Regions from separate parts of the Homo sapiens genome. Here regions 1 and 3 are each linked to region 2. Evidence: promoter capture Hi-C in human tissues and cell types (Jung and others, 2019). All regions are on one chromosome and are shown on one strand. Each heading gives the region's core, a stretch centred on a gene start or on the middle of the fragment in contact. The rest is flanking DNA. Distances are from core to core; before and after follow the strand shown. Region 1 has its middle 820 kb from the start of LINC00374. Region 2 holds the start of PCDH17 (protocadherin 17). Region 3 has its middle 650 kb from the start of LINC00374.

The links. The method cuts DNA at HindIII sites, captures the fragments that hold promoters and counts their contacts. A contact is called where the count stands out against the background at its distance.
Region 1: a fragment that was not itself captured here is called in contact with the fragment with the promoter of PCDH17 in region 2 in 1 of the 25 tissues and cell types used here (lymphoblastoid cells).
Region 3: a fragment that was not itself captured here is called in contact with the fragment with the promoter of PCDH17 in region 2 in 1 of the 25 tissues and cell types used here (lymphoblastoid cells).

What each region holds. Positions count from the first base shown.
Region 1 is chr13:59,047,071-59,049,770 of GRCh38, reverse strand. No RefSeq gene overlaps it. Among named protein-coding and RNA genes, the nearest start is that of LINC00374, 820 kb to the right of the region's middle. The HindIII fragment of the contact is 3,009 bases long and covers 1-2,700 here.
Region 2 is chr13:57,630,389-57,633,388 of GRCh38, reverse strand. It overlaps PCDH17 (protocadherin 17), which reads right to left and starts at 1,645. Exons shown (of 4, transcript NM_001040429.3): 1 at 1-1,645. The coding sequence starts at 842. RefSeq lists an enhancer at 459-1,138. The HindIII fragment of the contact is 5,195 bases long and covers 527-3,000 here.
Region 3 is chr13:58,878,254-58,881,157 of GRCh38, reverse strand. No RefSeq gene overlaps it. Among named protein-coding and RNA genes, the nearest start is that of LINC00374, 650 kb to the right of the region's middle. The HindIII fragment of the contact is 3,239 bases long and covers 1-2,904 here.

The DNA.
Region 1 (2,700 bases), core at 49-2,548, 1.4 Mb before region 2:
GAGGCTTAAGGCTTGCACTCCTTCACCCCATCAGGCTTTGTGTGATATGTAACAGAAAATGTCTTTTCATTAGTGGAGTTGATAAAGTTAAAACTTTTCTTGATTAATATTCTCTTGCGAAAATCAGTTACTGCCATGGATTTACACTGCAGATTTGCCGTAGTAGTTCTAATTTCTTTTGTGCTGAAGATTCATCTGATACATTTATTTAATAAGGATAATTGTTGTTGAAGGACTGAGTTGGTTAGTATTCCTTAGGTATCTCTGCTGGCAAATCTAAAAAATCTCTGATACTTGACAATGACCTTCAGTGATATTATAGGAATTTTTACAAGCCTCATTCAGGGAAATGGTTCAGGGAACAGGTTGTTCTATTGTTTAAGAAAATGCAATGTGTGGCAAATGTGCATGCCAGATAACTGATTAAATTCTGTCATATAACAGGAGAATTTCTAGTATTCCACCTAGTTTTTCAAATTGACAATTTATAATAAAGTTTCAGTAAGTACATTTAATTTCATATATAAATTGAGTTCATTTTATTTAGCATTGGTGGACAAAATATTTTCTGAGTAGCTTTCTTATCCATGTAAAGTAAATTAATCCTATCAAAATGCTATTAGTTGCAATAAAATAGCGAATTCAAAGATGCTCCACAAGATTAGATTCATTTCCCAAGATTTGTCATTTTTTTAACCTTCATCCTCTTCTCCCATCTCTTGTCTTCTCTCTCATTTTCTAATTGTGATCATTTCTTTCCATAGTTTCCTCTGAAAAAAGTATCCTTTTCTCAAATATGTAAAAGGAAGAATGATGAATTCCTCAAAAGAAGGGTTTTTTTTTAAAAAAAATAATCTATTGATAATATTTTTTGAAAGATAGCTAAAGCTTAGGATAAATTACCTTAAATTATTGTATTCATAATAGTCAGGCCAGAATAATGTATGCCTTAGGCAAAAAAACATGATGCCCAGCAAATTTAATTCAAATTAAGTTTGTTCTCATTGTATTGAATCAAATATAATCGATGTATTTGTTTATATTATGTTTTCAAGGAAGTTCAAATATGCCATTTTAGGGAGGAGAAAGTCTTGTCTTCACCTCCCAATTTTGTCTTGTAATTGAAGAAACAAAATTCATTAAAGAAGGAAGCTTTTTTTTTTTTTGTCTTTTCTTGAAGAGAAAGTTCTCATTTTAAATTCTTGAAGAGGTGTTTTTGGTGTTTCTTCAAAAGCTAACATCACTCCTGTGCTTATACAGCCTGCCTTCTCCTTTTCATCAGACCACCCAGGTTGTAAGTTTGTAATAAGCAAATCTCTTTTCCTTCTGAACTTCTTGACATATTATTTTTCCTCAAAAGCAGCCTATCTAAATTCACTAACTTACAGTAACCCTACCAAGCCAAGAAGCTTCTAAGTGTTCATTATTAACCCATTTTTGGATAAACAAGTTTCGAGCCCCTTTAAAAAACCCATTAAAAGCAGTGGACTCTGTCCTGAGTTAATGCATGTATGCAATTTAAATTTTTCAAATATAATTTCAGAAGCTCCATTAATCCTTAAATCCTTTTTTTAGATCCCAATAGGAATTGTCATTTCAGGCCTTTTAACATAAGAGGTTCTGGGAACTTTCTTTTGAAATATTACTCTAGAAAGAATAAGGAGGAATTAAAAGTATATTTGTTATTCATCAATTGACACCATGCCAATGACGACAATAGCTACCATTTACTGAGCACCTATTATGTGTTAAGCTTTATCTTTTTAAGGCATATTGTCTTTTTTTCATGCTGTGAACAATTTCTACAACTTGCCAGTATTATTATCCCCATTTGATAGTTGTGAGAAGTTTCAAAAACAATAATACCTTGTTTATAGTTATGCAGAATGTCTCCAGTTGCAGGTAAAAGAGAAGCTGACTAAAGCATGTATAGTAATGGCAGGATTATTTTACTCTCATGGCAACAAGTTTGTGGGTAGGTGACTGCTGGCTTTGAGCAAGAGCTTCACAACATTCAGGCTCTGAATCAGCATGCCAGGTATGCTTTTGACATTCCTCTCATGCTCAAAAAATGGTAACCTCAGCTCTAAACGAGGCACCTTAACCAAACCAGAGAAACAGGAGCTTTATCTAAGGACGACAATAATTTTCAGAATAGTTCCTTTATGTTTTTCTTATATCTCATTGGTTATAACTTGGTCATCTGTCACCTCCAAGCCAGGAGGGAAGTTGGAAAAGTTAATATTTATTTTATTCATCTTCAGTAATCCTAACCCAGCTGTGATTTTATTACTCAGGGAACATTTAGCAATGTCTGGAGTTATTGTTATTGTTATTCTTATTTTATTTTTGAGATGGAGTTTCACTCTTGTTGCGCAGGCTGGAGTGCAATGGTGCAATCTCGGCTCACCACAACCTCTGCCTCCCAGGTTCAAGCAATTCTCCTTCCTCAGCCTCCCGAGTAGCTGGGATTACAGGCATGCACCACTGTGCCCAGCTACTTTTGTATTTTTAGTAGAGACGGGGTTTCTCCATGTTGGTCAGGCTGGCCTCAAACTCCCGACCTCAGGTGATCTGCCTGCCTCGGCCTCCTAAAGTGCTGGGATTACAGATGTGAGCCACCGTATTTTTTGTTGTTGTTGTTGTCACTATTTTGAGGGTAGAAGTGCTACTGTCATTCAGCAAGTCCCGGTCAGGGAT
Region 2 (3,000 bases), core at 396-2,895:
GAGTAGAGCACTTCACCATTGGGACCTTCATCGGCGTCGGTGGCGTTCAGATCGATGACCACTGTACCCAGCGGAGCGTTCTCGGGCAGTTCCACCAAGTAGGATGGCGCCTCGAAGACCGGGCTGTTGTCGTTGGAGTCAATCACCTTCACGTTGATCTGTACGGTGGCGGAACGTGGAGGCTCGCCACCGTCCAGGGCAGTCAGCACGAGCGTATGGTGATTCTGTTGCTCGCGGTCCAGAGCCTTCTGGATGACCAGTTCTGGGAACTTGGTGCCGTCGCCGCGGGACTTAACGTCCAGTCCAAAGAGGCCGTGATCGTCGCGCGTGAGCAGGTAGGTGCGGAGCCCATTCTCGCCGGCGTCGGGGTCATGTGCGCTGGTGAGGGGGAAGCGGGTGCCCGGAGCAGCGTTCTCCGAGATGTCCATTTCGATCTGGTCCGAGGAGAAGGAGGGCGCGTTGTCGTTGATGTCCTGGATCTCTACCTTGATCATGCAGATCTCCTTGTCGTTGGCGAACACCTCGAGGGACAGCTGGCACTTGGCATTGTGGCGGCACAGGGACTCGCGGTCGATGCGCTGCTTGGTGTAGAGGAGCCCGCTGTCTGCGTCCACGTCCAGCAGGTGCGGTGCGGAGTTCTCCAGCACCCGGTAGCTACCCGACTTGCTGCGCCCTCCGCCGCCGCGCTCTGCAGGCGGAAGCCCAGGCTGCAGTCGAGCATCCCTGCCGATGTTCCCGATCACCGTGCCGGCCCCTTGCTCCTCCGGCACGGAGTAGTTGAGGTTCTTGAGAGTGAGGGCAGGGGCCCATAGAAGAAAGCAGCAACAGATGGAAAGGTACATCCCAGACCTGTAAGGTGGGGGCAGGAGCAATCGGACTGGAGGAGCCAGAGAGGGAGTGCGCGCCAGCCTGGGGCCCTGGCGCAGCGTGCGCGCGCGACGCGAGCCACAAGTCTATGGGTCCTTTTTTCCCTCTGCACCCGAGCTGCGGCACCCGGTGGTCTCTCCTTATTCTGCTCAAGTTCCCTGAACCTGTTGATCTACAGCATCCGCACTGGGTGAGAAGCTGCGGTGCAGCAGAGCTGCAGGGGCTTGGAGCAAGGCGGTGGCTTCCTGCGGCTGGGGGTGAGCCAGGGGTTTCGTCTCTCCCGCCCGGACTTCGGGAGGCTCAAACTTGAGCGATGAGGCAGGCGATAAGAAGGAAATCTCGTCTGGGAGAGATGATAATGAGCTAAAGAATCAGTAGGTTTTCCTCGCTCCCGCTAGGGTGCTGCAAATCTACTCCCGCCCGGAGACTCCGGAATACTCTTCACATCGAGTGGGGGAGGGAGCAGGGAGGTGTGTCTCTAGGCAGATCCGAAAGTGAAATTCTTACTTGCTGCTCGCCTCCCGTGATGAAATTGATGGGGATGAAGAGCAACGAAGACAGAGTCACAGATATATTTTGAAGCTTCCCCAGCGCACCGTGAAATGTCTGCTTGCTGCGCGGGCCGGTCTGTTTTCAGGCAGTGTTTTGCTGCATTTAGAGATCTAATCTTGCATTGCTGGCTGAGGCAGCGGCGGCGGCGGACTGCATCTACCAGCCAAGCGTATTTTTTTTTTCCTCTCTCTCCTTTCCGAGCAGCCAAAGGGAGGGGAGGAAATGCAGCGTAAAGAACTAGTGTCCCGATTTGTAGTTTCCTCTCCCCACCAGGCTCCTCCCTCTCTTCCTCGGAAAAGGCTCTCCCCCGAAATCAAGAAAGCCACAGCCTGATCAGCATTTGCTGTGTGAGTCTATTGGGAGGGGGGAAGTAGAGAGATAAATCTTCGCCTCTGTTCGTAGAACACACTCTCTGATTTCTCTACGCCAAGCCAGTAGCCTCCGCTACCATCCCATCCTCTCCCCGCGAGCAAGGACTTCTCTCCAAGCAGTTTAATTCCAGTTTGCTTTTCTTCCCAGGCGAAGGGAAATCAACAGGCAACTCATGGTTGGACGTGCACATTTAAAGGAGGAGGGGGGAGGCCGAATAAAAAGGAAGGGGGAGCCTCCCTCCCAGTCCTTGCACACACACTCTCCCTGTCTCTCGCTAGAAGGGAAACAGTCTCTGCATTCACAGGGCTGGGCTGTCAAGTGCCTCTTTTCTTTCTATTCAGCATCTCCTTCCAATAGCCCTGCCTCCCAGTCCTCTTCATCTAGAAAAGAAAACCTTGGCGAGGAATAAAAGTGATGAATATTTGAAGCAAATAAAGTACGTGTTTTTTTTTTTCCTTCAATTTTCTCTTATAGTAGGAGGAGTGGGCTGGATGAAAGCAACACATCAAGGTTTGGCGTGATGCATTCTGCAGTCTCTCTTTCAGTTTTTCTGGGCGACTCAGGGAGGGCAGGGGGTGCAGAGCTGCGGCCGCGGCGGTCCAGCCAGGGGCTCCTACCCCGGGGAGCTCCCTCCGAGGGGATGTTAGACACAGGTCTGTCTACACATTATTTCGGGTTCTGGAGGCGCCTCGACATACGGGAATGACACATCCAGAAATGCAGGTGTTCCGATCTGCCGGATGAGTCAGAAGCAGCGGAACGAATCGTATTCACTCTCGCCTCATGGTCCTCCCTTCACAGACATTAGTTGCGGCTTCTTCCTAACGCTTTCTCTGACTCAGTCTATAGAAAGAAAAACCAGATTCATGTTTTTGGGGAAAAAGAAAATGCAAGAGAAAAGGATGGAGGGAAGAAGGTGAAGCTGAATCTAGCAGCACTTTTACTCTACCTCTTTCTGCCGGAGTCCGAGGTTCTGGAAAACAAGGCGTCTGCTTTGCTAGGTGTATTGGTTTATTTATTTTGTTTATTTTTTTTAAACCTTTCCTCTTGGTTAGGCGAGAGGTACCCCGAAATTTTTCAGAGTCTTGGAAAAGGAAAAACAAAATCAGGTTTCCAGTAATTGTTCCCAGCTTAGCCTCGCATCATAGTTCAAGATTTTCCTCTCAATTTTTTCTATTCACAAAGTCCAACATCGATGTGTACAGTTAA
Region 3 (2,904 bases), core at 367-2,866, 1.2 Mb before region 2:
AATGCAGAACCACAAATGGTTTACAGAACTCTTGTATACATCCCTTCCAAGCTTACCTACTGGAATTACAAAACAGATAGAATAAATAAAATGCTTAAAATGAGAAGTAGAGATGCAGAGATAAGAAAAGGAACAATTAAGTTAAAAGCATTCACTATATTACTTTCACATTCAGAAAGTACTTCTAAAATATGATGGTAAAACAAAAAGGCATATCTGTCTCTCAAGAACCTAAAAAGAGTAGCAATGAAAAACAAACAGCATACAATTCCTTTTCTTAAAAGCACAAATTTAAAAATGCAGAATACCTTTCACATACGCTTACAAAGATGCCTTGTGTATGCTGAGAAGACACGGTATATGGTTGACTGTGATAATCTCTTATCAAGCTATCCTCAATAAGCAAAACCATGAAAGTCCTAGAAGAATATAAATGAATCCATTGGTAGATGGGAGGTATAGGAAATCAAGACAAAGAGTTGTTTAAAGTTTCAAAGCTTTAGCATGGCACTACAAACTGAATAAAGCAGGCTGAATACACCTCCCAGAGCATTATAAAACTTCTTACAATTTAAAGCCTTTAGGCTGGGCACACTGACTCCAAGTGTCCACAGACCTCGCTATATCCTACTGCTTTACCTCTACCCAACTTCACTTTAGGTTTTTTGACTGGCCTTTGTGAAAATGGAAGATCAAATATGAGAAGGTTTGAGATTTTGGAAAAAGATAAAAAGAGAGGGTGGGAGGGAGGGTGTGAGGAAGAAAAGAAGGAAAGAATGGAAGGAAAGAGAAAAGATAAAAATAGAAAGAATGAAAGAAGAAAGGAAGACAGTGAAGAAAGAAATGGAAAATAAAACTTAAAAAGAAAGGAAAAAGAAAAAGAAAGGATGGGAGGAAGGAAGGGAAGGGAGAGAGGAAAGGAAGGAAGGGGAGGAGGAAAGAAAAATCACTTATGTGGCTCGAAATAGCATTTTATATCAAATATATAAAATATTTTATAGCAAATATCTCGGTCAGTGTTATATGAGAGAATAATTTACTTCACCCAAATTAAGCAGTACTTTAATATTATTTAAATGCATATAAATGAAAACCAATTTTAATGTACCCTCTATATGTATTTCGAACTAGCACATCCTCAAACTTGCTGTAGTAGTATAGAATACAGGGACAATGACATTTAAAGTTATTTGTTCAGAAAATTACAACTTGAAGCAGGGAATGAATGAATTCTTACATTATCATCAAAAGGAAATTTTATACCTGGAAACTAAGAATGCTGGGAAAGTGTCAAAGCATCTGAGCCATTTATTATTATTTTTTCCTTACTATGCATAAAAGTGAAGAGATTCTGATATATAAATTGGTTTCTCACAATAAAATGAGCCAAAAAGGTAAAAAGAACAAATCAAGAAAAAACGATCTATTAGAAAAATCTTTAAACTTTGTCTCTTTATTTTGGACTTGTGAAAAGGGGAAAACGTGCACACCCACCCATACATCGGTGTGTATTCACTACACACAGCACTATTTGCATTTTTCCTTATCCAATCAGGCAGTTTGTACATATTTAATATCCTTCTTTCATTTTCATGCCTATGAACAAGCAGGTACTACCAACACACATAGGAACAGGATGTCTTATGCATATACAATGTGTACCCAAAGATGAAAGTTTTGATGAAAACTTAGGAAAAAAACATTCATCTCATTGGAATACAATTTGTGAATTTTTCAGCAGTTTCATGAAAAACTGAAAACTATTTGAGAATAAATGAGCAATTTCACACAACTCTAGTTTGCTTTCTCTTGGTTCCTGTTTTGCTCTGTTATGCATGGTAGAGAATCTTATAAAAGATGCCTTATATTACTGACCCAGCTCTTTCTGAAAGTGGTTTTGTCATCATTCAAGTCCTTAAAGAATAATATGAAAGTAAAAATATGGAAGTGTTTGCACTGAGGAAAATGAAAGTTGAAAGGCATAAAGGATGGGGAACATGGAGACTTGTGGATATTGACAGACATTCAACATCTAATGAACATTGCAAAATGGAACTTCAATAAAAAGAAATAGTCTGCTTTAGTGGAAAAAGAAGAATATTAGAAAATTATTCTTAGAAGAAATAGAGCAGATTTTGAGTTACTAAAACATACAAAGGAGGATTATAGACTGTAGAATTCATAACTGAATTGGTAAAGGCATTACTTAATATAATATTTGGCCTAACACTAAAATGAAAATACATTATGTTCTAATATAACTTGAGAATATGTTCAAAATTCAATGGTAAAATAGGCTTTAGTACACCCAAAAGAATTTTTCTCTTTCAAAAGACTAGTGTTTGGATTAGTTTTTTTTTTTTCCTTTTCTTTTCTCTTTTTCCTGAGGAGTGAGAATAGTAGTTTTCAGAAGGCTTGTTTCCTCCCTTAAACATCAAAGACATTACTTTTCTGAAAAAGAATCACTGTAGATGAACCACCCCTTTTGCTTTGACTATAAAGAAAATGATAAAAGGAGAATTTTTAACCTTTGGCCCATCTTTCATTTCTTTAAATAAACAGTGATTCAGGATATGAGAATTGATTGGTATTCAGATTCTATGTTAAAATCCATGGGTATCAAGTCTGTCCCAAAGCAGTCATACAAATCAGATTGTGTTGGTTCATAAACTGATGAAGAAAAACCTCTAATCTGCCTCAGTAAGGGGAGCAAATATACTTGTACACCATTTTCAGAGGTGTGTGAACCAGAACAACTCCATTTTGAATGGGAGCTGGGTAAAATGAGGCTGAGACCTACTGGGCTGTATTCCCAGATGGTTAAGGCATTCTAAGTTGCAGGATGAGATAGGAGGTCAGCACAAGATACAGGTCTTAAAGACCTTGCTGATAAAACAGTTTGCA